Regions from separate parts of the Homo sapiens genome. Here all the other regions are linked to region 5. The links are contacts of gene promoters, found by promoter capture Hi-C in blood cells and fetal thymus (Javierre and others, 2016). All regions are on one chromosome and are shown on one strand. The core of a region is centred on a gene start or on the middle of the fragment in contact, and the rest is flanking DNA. Distances in the headings are between cores, read along the strand shown.

Evidence for each region. The method cuts DNA at HindIII sites, captures the fragments that hold promoters and counts their contacts. A CHiCAGO score of 5 or more calls a contact.
Region 1: a fragment that was not itself captured here is called in contact with the fragment with the promoter of LMTK2 in region 5 in 1 of 17 cell types (endothelial precursors); the score reaches 5.7 in endothelial precursors.
Region 2: a fragment that was not itself captured here is called in contact with the fragment with the promoter of LMTK2 in region 5 in 1 of 17 cell types (monocytes); the score reaches 5.0 in monocytes.
Region 3: a contact is called between a fragment that was not itself captured here and the fragment with the promoter of LMTK2 in region 5, in 1 of 17 cell types (total B cells). The highest score is 5.2, in total B cells.
Region 4: a fragment that was not itself captured here is called in contact with the fragment with the promoter of LMTK2 in region 5 in 1 of 17 cell types (M2 macrophages); the score reaches 5.2 in M2 macrophages.

Annotation. Positions count from the first base shown.
Region 1 is chr7:97,150,875-97,153,763 of GRCh38, reverse strand. All of the region lies in intron 1 of SDHAF3 (succinate dehydrogenase complex assembly factor 3), which reads right to left. All of the region lies in intron 2 of LOC107984034 (a long non-coding RNA gene), which reads right to left. Among named protein-coding and RNA genes, the nearest start is that of SDHAF3, 35 kb to the right of the region's middle. The HindIII fragment of the contact is 5,764 bases long and covers 1-2,889 here.
Region 2 is chr7:97,177,816-97,180,515 of GRCh38, reverse strand. The region is part of intron 1 of SDHAF3 (succinate dehydrogenase complex assembly factor 3); the gene reads right to left. LOC124901704 (a long non-coding RNA gene) reads left to right here. Exons shown (of 3, transcript XR_007060445.1): 2 at 167-256. Among named protein-coding and RNA genes, the nearest start is that of SDHAF3, 61 kb to the right of the region's middle. The HindIII fragment of the contact is 4,077 bases long and covers 1-2,700 here.
Region 3 is chr7:97,107,620-97,110,348 of GRCh38, reverse strand. No RefSeq gene overlaps it. Among named protein-coding and RNA genes, the nearest start is that of SDHAF3, 8.7 kb to the left of the region's middle. The HindIII fragment of the contact is 9,433 bases long and covers 1-2,729 here.
Region 4 is chr7:97,133,361-97,136,060 of GRCh38, reverse strand. All of the region lies in intron 1 of SDHAF3 (succinate dehydrogenase complex assembly factor 3), which reads right to left. It also overlaps the pseudogene HMGB3P21. Among named protein-coding and RNA genes, the nearest start is that of SDHAF3, 17 kb to the right of the region's middle. RefSeq lists a silencer at 1,555-1,706. The HindIII fragment of the contact is 2,816 bases long and covers 1-2,700 here.
Region 5 is chr7:98,105,544-98,108,475 of GRCh38, reverse strand. LMTK2 (lemur tyrosine kinase 2) reads right to left here and starts at 1,614. Exons shown (of 14, transcript NM_014916.4): 1 at 1,196-1,614. The coding sequence starts at 1,298. The HindIII fragment of the contact is 4,003 bases long and covers 1-2,482 here.

The sequences.
Region 1 (2,889 bases), core at 268-2,767, 950 kb after region 5:
AGGATATGCTACAGAAACTCTCATTCACTGCTGGTGGAAATATAAAATGGTCACCAAAACGCTGGCAAGGATATGCTACAGAAACTCTCATTCACCGCTGGTGGAAATGTAAAATGGTACAGCCACTTTGGAAGACACTTTACAATTTCTAACAAAACTAAACATACTCTTACCATATGATCCAGCAATTGCATTCCTTGGTATTTATCCAAAGAAGTTGAAAAATTATGTACACTCAAAACCCTGCAAACGGATGTTTACTGCAGCTTCATTCATAATTGACAAAACTTGGAAGCAACCAGGATATCCTTCAGTAGGTAAATGAACAAACTGCAGTACACCCAGACAATGAAATATTTATCAGAGCTAAAAAGAAATGATCAAGCCATGAAAAGACACATAGGAAACTTAAACGCATATTACCAAATAAAAGCAGCCAAGAAGCCAATTTGAAAAGGCTACATTCTGTATGATTCCAACATGTAACACGCCAGAAAAGGCAAAACTAGGGTGAGAGTACACAGATCAGTGGAGAAACCACCTTTGCAAAAATTACAAGTGAGAAAATTATGACAGCAAAAGAGATATGACCTAATCAACTGCATCGTGACTTTAACCTCCCAACTGCCCTTGTTCATTCCTAGGTGTAGGTCTAGCTAACTTTGTGAGGAATTTACACTTTAATTTTGAAACAAAGACAGTGACAGGCCCTCCCCAAAACAAACATCCTCCTTGCTTGGAGACTAGATCACCTTTGTAAAACTAACAAATTTGCCACAAAATAAGAAATAATGGCTCAGGGCCAGATGCAGTGGTTCATGCCTGTAATCCCAGCACTTTGGGAGGCCATGGCGGGCATGGCGGGAGACCATTGCTTGAGGTCAGGAGTTCAAGACTGGCCAAGATGGCAAAACCCTGTCTCTACTAAACCACCACGCCTACAAAAATTTGCTGGGCATGGTGGCACACATCTGTAGTCCCAGCTACTCAGGAGGCTGAGGCACAAGGATCGCTTGAACCTGGGAGGCAGGGGTTGCAGTGACCTGAGATTGCGCCATTGCAATCCAGCCTGGGCGAAAGAGCGAGACTCCATCTCAAAATAAATAAATAAATAAATAAATAAACAAAATAATGGCTCAGAAGTCACGCAGTCAGAGGCCATAAACTTCCTAACCTCCTCAATTGCTCCTATGGATAACATTACTACTGTAAAACCTAAGACTGATGTTTGACATATTTTTCAGACCCTGCATTCTAATGGATCCACTGGTGTTACCCAGACCCATAAACTGGGATATCTGGTCTTGTGACCTCCCACCCAGGAACTGACTCCATGCAAGAGGACAGATTCAACTCCCTATTATTTCATCCCTAACTTAACCAATCAGCATTTCCCATTCCCTAGTCCATGCCTGCCAAACTATCTTTCAAAAACCCTAGCTTCCAAATTTTCAGGGAGGCTGATATGAGTAATACCAAAACTCCAGTCTCCAATTTAGTTGGCTCTATGTGTATGAAACAGTTTCTCTATTGCAATTCCCATCTTGATAAATTGGCTTCATCTGGCAGAAGGCAAGTAGAACCCATTGGGGGTTACAGTTGTGGGTTATCAGAGGTTGGTGAGGGGGATGAACCGGCAGGGCAGAGAGAATTTTTAGGGCAGTGAAAATATACTATATACTACTATAAAGATGGATACATGTCGTTATACATTTGTCTAAACTCACAGAAAGTAAGAAAACAAGAGTAAACCCTACATGTAAATGATGAACTCTGGGTGATCTTAATGTGTCAATGTAGTATTGGGGCTCAGAAAATGATACCCCAAAGTAAGGCTCTTTGGTATCATGACTGGGGAACAGCAGGGAACCAGTGGATGCAAGCTGAAGTTTTCTCTGAGGACCCCTAATCTGCCTAAAGATGGATCTGGAAAGACCGTACCACAGGAAAAAGAGACTAAAGGTTGGCCGAGCGTGGTGGCTCATGCCTGTAATCCCAGCACTTTGGGAGGCCGAGGCAGGCAGATCACGAGGTCAGAAGATTGGGACCATCCTGGTGAACACTGTGAAACCCCGTCTCTACTAAAAATACAAAAAAATTAGCCAGGCATGGTGGCAAGCGCCTGTAGTCCCAGCTACTCGGGAGGCTGAGGCAGGAGAATGGCAGGAACCCGGGGGGCAGAGCTTGCAGTGAGCGGAGATTGTGCCACTGCACTCCAGCCTGGGGGACAGAGGGAGACTCCAACTCAAAAAAAAAAAAAGGACTAAAGGTTAGCAACCTCACCCAGAGCAGCTTTACCCATTCTTTGGAGGGCTGCTCCCCGAGATATTTTAATCTATGTAGCAAGACAACCTTTGTTCCCTAGATTTCTTCCCCTCACCCTCCCAAAGCCTGTCTGTCCTCACCTCCACTCCCTAGAAGCCCCAAGCCCCTATTTCTTTCTGCAGCTACAGATATTATAAAAATTCCAATCATCTGGCCTTTCTGAGTCTTTTATTTTGTGAGACTCTCGTGTATATGCACATAATAAATCCGTATGCCTTTCTCCTATTAATCTGTCTGCTTTCAGTTTATCACAGATTCAACTACAGAAACTTCGGAGTGTGCAGTAAAAGTTCCCGTCACCCCTACAGTTTGTTCATCTATTGTAACAAATGTACTACTCCAGTGGGGGATGCTGATAATGGGAGAGGTTATGCATATGTTGGGGCAGAAGGTATATGGAAAATCTCTGTGCTTTCCTCTTAATTTTGCCAAGAACCTAAAACTAATCTTAATATATTAAGTCTTAAAACACACTAACAAACAACTGACAGCCAGGCGCAGTGGTGCAGGCCTGTAGTCCCAGCTACTGAGTATTTTAACCCCGCTATTCAGACTACTGATCAG
Region 2 (2,700 bases), core at 78-2,577, 930 kb after region 5:
TCCTGTCACCCAGGGAGTAAGCACAATACCCAACATGTAGCTTTTCAACCCATACCACCCTCCAGTAGTCCATGCTGTCAGCTGTTCCCAGTTTACATCCATGTGTGCTCAATGTTTAGCTCCCACTTAAAATTTTATTTTTCTGTTCCTGTGTTAATTTGCCTAGGATCATGGCATCTATGTTGCTGCAAAGGACATGCTTTCATCCTATTTATGGCAGCACAGTATTCCACGGTGACATGTAACACATCTTCAAGTGAGTCTAAATTCATTCCTATGTCTTCAATTACAATTTTAATTTAAAATATACTAGAGAAAAACTTCTTAAACCTTTAAGTCTTCAATGTTTAACAACCATCTGTGTCAAGAAAAACTTTTTCATGTTCTAATTTTGCTCTTATTAAGTACATTCAGCCTAATATTCCAACTATCCCCATCTGCACAAGTGCCACTGTTTTGAAACAGACTCACTCTAAAATTAATCTTTTAAGCAGACAAAGTGCCAAAGTATTTTAGTTCATGAAGTTAAAGTGAATGAACTGGCTAACTCTGGATAATGCTGCTACCTGATCTGGCTTGAGATATATAAATTGCTTGTAATTGCTGGAATGGCAGCATTGCCAGAGCAACTTTAATTCCAAACATTCCAAACCTATGGAGAAAATATTTTTTCCATGATTTACAGAAATCCACTTATTAAGATGAAAACATTTCAAGTTTTATCAATTCCACTTCTATATGCTTCAGGGCAGGCAGGGTTTTTCAACCTTGGCACTATTTTGTGTGTGTAGGGGGGGTAGGGGTGGGGAGGGGTCAGTGAGAGTCTGCATTGCAGGATGTTTAGCAGCATCTCTTGTCTCTGACCACCAGATGGCAGTAACACCCCTCTCCCCGTCTTGATAATCTAAAATGTCTCGAAACACTGCCAAAGGTTTCCTGGCAAGGCAAAAATCACCCTACCATCCTAAAGAAACTTTAAAACATGTGAACAAGTATCATGCAGAAGAATGTTGATTGTTAAAGCAAAAAAAAAAAAAAAAATGGAAATAATTGTACTTCAATAGAAAAGTCAAATACACTGAAATTTACTCAGATGATAATAAAGATGTCACAACAAATAAGCTACAAGTCTATGTATCAACACGGATGAAACTCCAAAAAATAAAATCTAAAAAGCAGGCTTTAAGAAATTATTCATTTACAAAAATGGACAACTAAGGAGCTCTAAATAGCAAAAACAGAGGACTCACAACTCCCAATTTCAAAACTTAACTAGAAAGCCACATTAAACAAAAGTGTGGCACTGGCATTAGAATAGATATATAACACCAATAGAATGAGGAGTCCAGAAGTAAATCCTTACATATATAGCCAATTGATTTTTGATAAAGATGTCAAATCCATTCAGTGGAGGAAAGAATAATCTAGGCAACAACTGGTGCTGGGAAAACTGAATTTCCACATGCAAAAGAGTGAAGTTAGACACCCCATCTTCTACCATATACAAAAATTAACTCAAAGTGAATCAAAGACCTAAATATAAGAGCTAAAATCATGAGAATCCTAGAAGAAAATATATAGGTAAATCTTTATGACCTTTGATTTGGCAATAGGTTCTTAGATATGACACCAAAAGCCCAAGCAACAACAACAAAAATAAACTGGACAGTATCAAAATTAAATACTTCTGTGCATCAAAGGACACCTAATAGTAAAAAGACAAACTACAAAATGAGAAAAAATTTGCAAATCGTATCTGAAAAGGGTTTATTATCCAGAATATATAAAGAACCACAACTAAAAGACAAATAGCCCAATTTAAAAATGGGTAAAGCACATGAATAGACATTTCTCCAAAGATATACAGATGGCCAAGTACATGAAAAGATGGTCAAAATCATTTGCCATTAGAAAAATGTAAATCAAAACCACAATGAGATGCCACTTCACCCTAAGATGTCTACTATAATAATTTTTTAAACCCCAGAAAAATAACAGTTGGAATAAACTAGAATCCTCATACATTGATAATGAGAATATAAAATGGTATAGCCACTGCAGAAAAGACTGGCAGTTCCTCAGAAAGTTAAACACAGAATTACCATATGATCCAGCAAATGCACTCATAGGTATATTACCAAAATAACTGAGAACAGGAACTCAAACACATACTTGTATACACAATAGACGACATTTGGAAAATAACCTAGATGTCCACCAGCAAGCAGATAAACAAAATGTGGTATACACATACAATGGAATATTTATCACCCTTAAAAGGGAATGAAGTTCTGATCCATACTACAACATGGATAAACCTTAAAAAGATTATGCTAAGAAGCCAAACATAAAAAGACATATTGTATGATTCCACTTACATGAAATATCTAGAATAGGAAAATTCATAGACAGAAAGAATAGATAATACTAAGGGCTGGGAGGAGGTAGGAGAGGGTGTTACTGTTTAATGGCCACCGAGTTTCCGTTTGGGTGAGGAAAAATCTAGAATAATGTCTCTACAATGTATCATTTACAGTGTCCAGGAAAAAAATTAAAAATTATTACAAACACAGTTAAGAGAAGAGGCAATCAATGGAGACCAGTGCCTGAGATTATTCAGACATTAGAATAAGCAGAGATAGATTTTAAAGCAGGTACTATAAATGTTAAGTATGTAAAAGAAAATACGGTCATCATAAA
Region 3 (2,729 bases), core at 79-2,578, 1.0 Mb after region 5:
AGCTCACTGCAAGCTCCGCCTTCCGGGTTCATGCCATTCTCCTACCTCAGCCTCCCGAGTAGCTGGGACTACAGGTGCCTGCCACCACCCCCGGCTAATTTTTTTGTATTTTTAGTAGAGATGGGGTTTCAGCGTGTTAGCCAGGATGGTCTCAATCTCCTGACCTTGTGATCCACCCGCCTCAGCCTCCCAGGGTGCTGGGATTACAGGTGTGAGCCACCACGCCCGGCCTTTTAAATTCTATTTCTGTTGTTCTAGTCATCACCCTTGCATTTTCAACATGTATCCATAATATCATATTGTTCAAACAATATCTAAGGTTAATCAGTTCCTATATGCTCCTCCAAATAAGACAGGAACATTAGCATGATTTTATTTCCCTCCCTGCCTGTCCTCTGCAATGTCCTATATTGATGTCTATTCCAATTGTAGGTTCAGATTATTGTTCAAATTTAGTTTCCCTATTCTTAGTGATACACTATCCTCTGTTCTCATCCTGTTCTGCTTGCTCTGTTAACTGTTTCCTGAGGTATAAGTACTTATATTTGTTGAGTTCATTGTATTTCCGGGTGTTGGCTTTCCACAAATACGAACAATTCTGACTAGGTACTTACTTTTGTATTTCAGATGCCCAGTTAGTGTGTCTCTTCTCTCAAAGGAAAGACAAGACAGGCTACCAAGGATTGTATGTCTATCAATTTTCAGTAAGAGTAAGGGAGTAGAGACAATGTGCCACTAGGATATCTTGCCAGTCTGAGTATCTTAGTGGGTATCTTAGTCTTACACTTGTGGAAATTCCTACCCTCTTGTGTGCCCTTGTTATCCACTTAAGGGCACATTCTTATCTCTCTGACCCAATCTCCCATACCCATTGCCTTCACCTGGAGGCAGCCACCTGGCTGATCCTACTGTGGTACCCTGACTAATCACCCTGTTTGCTGCCAAGACCCTCCCTGCTCATAGTGTTTATCTCTTCCAGGTGTGGTACATTCTGGGAATCACTCTTACCTGCTTCTAACAGTACTCATGTACTTACCTTTTGGGCTGAGCTTTCTTTTTCAATGAGAGCTACTCTCCATCACCCAGGGAATCTTCACAGTTTCTGAAGTTTCAATACTTACAGTACTGTTATTTCTGGTAAGATTATGAATGTAGTTCCCAATTTTGAACAACACATTATCTCTTTTACATATAAACAGATATTTTACATAACTTGTTTAAAAACTTTAAAACAGAATTCATATTACTTTAAATTATTAATATTAAATTCCCCATCTTTTCCAATCCAGTTACAGCTTTTTAAAATATACGTTATCTCATTTCTAAAGATTAGTAGGAATGGGAGGTTGGGGTGTGTTTCCAGTCTATTATTTTAGCATTTGAAGAATGATATATTATTTTCAGTTGTAAAAAAAAAATGAAATGTAAATGTCCAACACCAAGGAATTAATTAAATTATGATATAGCCATATAATGGAATATTAAATATGCTTTTAAAAATGATGTTAAGTATGATATTTTAATGACAAAACACATCAAATTATTGTTAATAATCAAGAGCAGGATACAAATATATATAATATATATGATTTTAGTCATTTTTTAAAAATAGAAACTCTAGAAGCAAACATGCTAAAATACTTACTGGTAAGATTATGAATGTAGTTCCCAGTTTTGAACAATAAGTTATATCTCTTTTACATGTAAAAAGATATTTTACATTACTGGCTTAAAAACTGTTGAAAACAAAGAATTCATATTACTTTAAAGTTTCCATAAAAATCTTGACAAAAGCTGATCAAAAATTAGATGATATTGCAAAGAAAAATTTAAACGCATTTTTTAAAACCAGGAATTTTATAGATCTTATTCTCTGACCACAATGCACAAAATTAGAAAATCATAATACTTACTATGTAGCCACAAAAATTAAAACAACATGAAAGTACAACCACTCAAAAATTCTAAAGCATCCTTATACATAAATCTTAGAACAAAGAAAGGAACATAAAAACAGAATATTTAGAAAATATTAAAAAGATACTTAAGGGCTGGGAACAACACAAAACAAAATGGATTATATTTCAAATTGTGTGATCATATACTCAGGCACTCATCTAGGAAGACATTATAGATGAGTGGAATCTAAGCTGTGCCTTGAATAATGATATCATATAGACAGGTTAAGAAAAGACCTGAGGTTTTTCAAAAGAGAAAAACAACATGAAAAGCAACACTGAGCTTGTGTTGTTAGAACAGTGAAGAAACCAAACTGATTAGAATAATGAATAGCCTATTGTAGGCAGAATAGAAAATAGTCCTTTAAAAAATAGGAATATTTGTTTGGATCTAGAAAGAATTATATATGTATAATATATAGTATTATATAATTACATATCTTTATATATTTATTAACGTATAATTTTACAGGTGGTAAAATGGGCCAGAGAAGTTAAGTGACATCCTACGTTGAATGGGTGTTGATTATGAAACTGGTCCATTGTCCCATAAAACTGATGTTTATGGTTTCTTTTGAATAAACATAGAAATAGACCCTCCCAAGACTTTTTTAGTTATTCCCTATATTGTTTAACGGATAATGGCAAGAAAAAAATGTCTGGGAGATTCCTAAGACTTAAGAAAGTTACATTTTTCTTATCTGAGTTACTTTCTCAGGAAACCAAACATCAGGCCTTCCACATAGTATCAAGGAACTGAAACTTACTAAA
Region 4 (2,700 bases), core at 59-2,558, 970 kb after region 5:
GACAAATACATTTATATCTATCCTAATCATCATGAACCTACCAAATTCTTCTTTAAAAATATATACAGGGACTAGCCCGGGCATGGTGGCTCACACCTGTAATCCCAGCACTTTGGGAGGCCGAGGCGGGCGGATCACGAGGTCAGGAGATCGAGACCATCCTGGCTAACACGGTGAAACCCCGTCTCTACTAAAAATACAAAAAATTAGCCAGGCGTGGTGGCGGGCGCCTGTAGTCCCAGCTACTCAGGAGGCTGAGGCAGAAGAATGGTGTGAACCTGGGAGGCGGAGCTTGCAGTGAGCCGAGATTGAGCCACTGCACTCCAGCCTGGGCGACAGAGTGAGACTCTGTCTCCCAAAAAAAAAAAAAAAAAAAAATATATATATATATACACACACACACACACACACACACACACACACGCACGCACATACATCTCACACACACACACACACAGACACACACACACACACACACATATGGGGACTAGCAAATAATGCAGTCAATAATGACTAAAGGTGACCCCAAGAAACCAATGGGCTAAGATCTACTTTCCCTTCTTTGTATAGGCCAGAAGTACAAAAAGAAAAATCCAGAGATCCCCATTAGTGTTGCAGGTTTTTAAGAAGTCCTCTTGCAGGTCAGAGACAACGTCTAAGAAAGGAATCTAAATTTGATGATCTGGAAATGAAGCATTTTGGAGCAGCTAAGAGAGGCAGGAAGAAGGATCCTAATGTCCACAAACTATCACTGCCAGCTAGCTTCTTGTTCTGTTTAGAGTTGTATCCTAAGAACAAATCCACAAACACTGGCATCTTAACTGAAGACCAAAATGTTAGGTATGATGTAGAGTACCCTTACTGATAACAAAAAGCAGCCTTACAATAATAAGGGGGTAAAGCTCAATGAGAAATATGACAAGGATGTAGCCACTTCAGGAAAATTTGACAGTGCAAAGGAGAAAGCTAAAGTTCCTTGGGGGGAAAAAAAAAAAAGAGGAGTAGGATGAACAGGATGACAGACAGGAGAAAGAGAGGGTTAAAGGAAGGGGGTATGAAGAAGAAATAAAACTGAGCATCTCTTTCCATGTAAAATCCAGAGTAGGGAAAACATCATAATACACCTCTCTGAGAATGTCTCTGCCCTTACTAGATTTAATTACAAAATTAGAATATGATCACATGTCAGTTTCTCTAAAAGTGTTCTGAAAATCTTAAGTATGTGCATTAAACAGTCAGGGGTGTTATGAGCACCCAGAAACTGTATCAAACTTGCAAAAATGTCCAAACATTTTAAAGTAAGAACATCTTCTCAGCTGGGTGAGGTGGCTCACACCTGTAACCCCAGCACTTTGGGAGGCCAAGGCAGACGGGTCATCTGAGGTCAGGAGTTCAAGACCAGCCTGGCCAACATACTGAAACCTCATATCTACTAAAAATACAAAAATTAGCCAGGCATGTTGGCAGGCACTTGTAATACCAGCTACTTGGGGGGCTGAGGCAGGAGAATCACATGAACCTGGGAGGTGGAGGTTGCAGTGAGCCAAGATCATGCCACTGCACTCCAGCCTGGGAGACACAGCAAGACTCCGTCTCAAAAACGAAAGTTCTTTTCACTCTGTGCATCTTTCTCTTAGTCTTATAAAAGCATTTAATGATAGTCACAGCATTTTTCTTTTAAAGTGGTGTTCATTCTGGTTATTCACCAGTAATCCAGAGTTATCAGTTATATATATCTATAGCTTATAAAATAAATAAATCACAAACTCTTGAGGCCCATGATTGGAAGTGTGAGGCAATAAACATGTTACTTTTGGGAGGGGCCACATTCAAGGCATGTGGTGTGAAGCCAGATTCACTGAGGCTGCAGGTGGCAGCCATCTCACCCAGGTAGCTGCTGTAGCTGTTTTTGCAGTAACGTGTTTGCTGTATCATCTGCTGCCATTCTGAGCTTTGGAAAGGGGGGAGGGAGTCAGCTGCATGAAAAGTGTATGGATTGGTTTTTAAGTGGGATAGTTCTTAAACAAACTATAGACCTCTTCGTCAGTAAAGAGTTATTGCACCAAAGTCCAGAAACTGTTCCTACTTAACCTATGACATGTACAATAATATTCCAGTTTTGGCCTTGGGTTTTTGTTTGTGTGTTTATAACAATGAAATGTCTTTTAAAGGAAAATAAACCATACTATAATTTTTAAATCTATTCGAATAAAGCACAAATATTTTAGTGTTTTAGAGCTCTGAAAGCAAAGTGCAATTTACTTTAGAAATGCTTTGAGTTACACTGATTTAGGAGTAAAGAAGAACACAAACTTGTAAATGAGGCAAATACCATTCTCCCTCCTCTAGGGTTAAGCTAATTAAATTTACACACAAAGAGAAGAATCTGAAATTTTTCAGGCCTAGGAAAAATAAGTAAGAAGTAGTTTAATCCATTAACACGTGTAATAGTAACAATAATACCTCAACAGAAAGAAGGTGGTAAACCTAAAAATAAAGGATTGAGGGCAAACTTACAATATGCATTCAGTACTGTTCAGGAAAAAAGGGCAACGAAGCTGTAGGACCCACAAAAATAATCACTAAAGGGATGTTTTCTACTGCAGACACAGTGAGGTCTGATGAAAAAAGCTCTCACGCCTACCCACTCCCTGTCATTTTAATTCCATGTTTACCAGGCAACCTTCTAAACACTAATTC
Region 5 (2,932 bases), core at 365-2,864:
GGGCACTCAATGACAAACCCTGATGTAGCTCTGGAAGCAATTACATGTAGCTTTCATCGTAGATTTGTTTGAAAAATATGTCTTTACTGGAGACAGTACATCCACATTCTGTACCCAATTAACATTATTCCAAAATAACTCTTGACCTCGAGAGTATTCCAAAACAGTTACAAGACTTAAAAAAAATCATACAACTAGGGGTATCTAAGACCTGGCTTTGGGGCTCTGCCTACAACGAAGCTGTGTCACCCTGGGTAGGTCATTTGACCCAACATGCCCAGTATCTCCTACTACGTAAAGAAGAAATTGGTCTAAATTTTCTTTAAGGTCTCTTCTAACTCTAACATTCTATGAATGTATGAAATTTCAATCTTTCCCCATTTCAAAGGTAATGGCGGCAGTCAATAACGCCAAGTTAGCCTAGATTTTTTTTTCCTTTTTAGAAAAATGACCCAACTTGGGATGTTTTCTTGGGTTGAAGTTTTATTTAGGAAAATAAACCCCAAATAAAAACGATGTTGAGAAAATGGGCGGGGGGGGAGAAAAGAAAATCATACACTGACGTTAGCTAAAATAGAAACTTCCATCACCCTTAAGCCAGTTTGTCAATAGTTATTCAACGCCTGCTACTCTAATCACTGGCTTCCTAAAATAGAAATATTTATAGTTGTTTCCTTCTCATCCCCGGAGATACATTCCGAATAAAAAGCACAGCGTCTAAAATCAATTTACAACTTCAGAATAAGTTGCAAGGAGCGAAAACAAACTCCGCACAGCTCGCCAAGTCATTTGCATTTAAGTATGATTAGGGCTAAGAAACGGTTCTTATGAGATGCGAAAAAAAAGCACAAGAGGCAGGTGACATCTGGAAAGGGAAGCTGAACTGCCAGGAAGCGATATAAGCTGAGGATCTTAAGGCAACAGGTCCAGGGCCGGCACCGCAGCCTATCCCGGGAGGGGTCGGTGGCTGCTACCTCGCCCGCCGCCCTCCCCAGCCCCAACGACGTCGCCTCGCTCCCGCCCCCCCAAATCCCACGCCCCTGCGGCAGAAATCTCCCTAATCACTCGCCTCCCTGGGCTTCCCGCCCCCGGCAGGCCCTCCGATTCCTCGGCGCCGAGGCCGGCCCGGCCCTGCCGCCCCCTCCCCTCCACGCCGAAGACCCCGCAGCCCCGTCCCCGCCGCGGGCCCGCTCACCTGCACCTGTTTGCGGAAGTGGCGCGGCCCCAGCACTGCCGGCGATCAGGAGGACCAGCAGCAGCAGCAGCAGCCTCCGCCGCAACGCCGGCGGCCCCGGCATCTCGCCCACGGCGCGGCTCCGGGGCCGGCCCTCGAGTCGCCTTCCGTCCGTCCGTCCGTTCGCCCGTCAGTCGATCCTGCCTCCCTCCGCTGCCTCAGTGGCACCCGCGCCGGTTGCTCCCGAGCACACGTTGCTTCTGCCAAACCTCGGTCCGGCTCCCGGTCCGCACCTGCCGCTCCAGTCGCAGAAACACCATCCTTCCCGCCCGCCTGCGCCGCCGCCGCCGCCTCTCAACAGCAGCAACGCCAGCAGCCCTGCGGAGCGGCGGGCCTGGGAAGCCGCGCTCCCGCCGCCATGATGGGCTGCGTCATGTGACGTAGCGCGGGGGCGGGATGTCGTGATGGACAGGGCGGCCAGCCACTCGTCAGTCCACACCGGCCCAGGAGGCCCCGCCCATCATCCTGAAGGAGTGAGCGGTGGCGGCCGGTGCGCCCCCTGCAGACGGAGGAGTGCGTGGGCAGCAGGTAACACCAACAATTATTTTAAATTGAAAAATACAGGAAAATGTAAAGAAGACCATGACAATCATCCTGATATTTTTTTCTCGGTGTTTTATAACATGCAAAAATAGGCCTGTCTTGTCTTCTGCCTTTTTTTTTTTTTTACTTGTCAGAGCTGTTTTAGGCTCTTCTCCTTAAGTTGACCTACACATCCTCTCAGCCATCAAACAGCTTTGGGCTTTTCACTTGAATTGATCAAGAGAATGCCTCTCTCGGCATCACCCACTGACTCACCTCCTGAGCTCAAGCTGTTGCCTCTTGTCCACCTGGCAGACACTCTTCCTTTCATCTGTCGAGACTCACCTGACATATGACTTCATCTATGACTCTCTAGGAGAAATGACTGTCATCTCCTTAGTGCCCCGCCCTGGCCCTGTGTGGACTGCTATCCTAGCTGCAGTATCCTATTGACCCGTGACTGTAAGCTCCCTGAGGACAGCAACTGTGTCTGATTCAGCTGGTGGGAAATCCCTGGTGCAGGACCTGGGTCGGAGCAGGTGTTCTCTAAAGCAATGGTGCATGGCCCTGGTCCCAGGTACCAGGGCAGAGCAGCTCCCAGGGGTGGCCTTCTCCCCACCAAGAGGTGAGGTGAGAACACAGTCCTGCAGAGAGGATAGAGAAAGCACTCTCCAGACACAAGTAATATAGTGGTCAGAGGCATGGGGGTTGGGAAAATGCTAAGCTTTTCTGGAGAGGCGCTATGGTTCAGTGTGTGCATGAGAGGAGCTGATTTCAATCTTATCAGATGAGACTTTGCCACCTGGCAACAGTGTAACCTCCCCAATTCTCCAAACTCCCCAAATGTCCATCCTAAATGCCAGCTGTCGATGATGTTAACACAGCACTGGACACACAGATGATGCCCAGGGAATATTTGTTGGATGATTGAGGCAAGCCAATAAATATCTAAGGAGACAAATACCTGGAACGAGAAACATTGAATTTAAAAGTCCATGGCTTGGCTGGGCACGGTGGCTCACACCTGTAATCTCAGCACTTTGGGAGGCCAAGGTGGGTGAATCACTTCAGACCAGGAGTTCAAGACCAGCCTGGCCAACATGGTCATACCCCATCTCTACTAAAAATACAAAAAGTATTAGCCAGACACGGTGACGCATGCCTGTAATCCCAGCT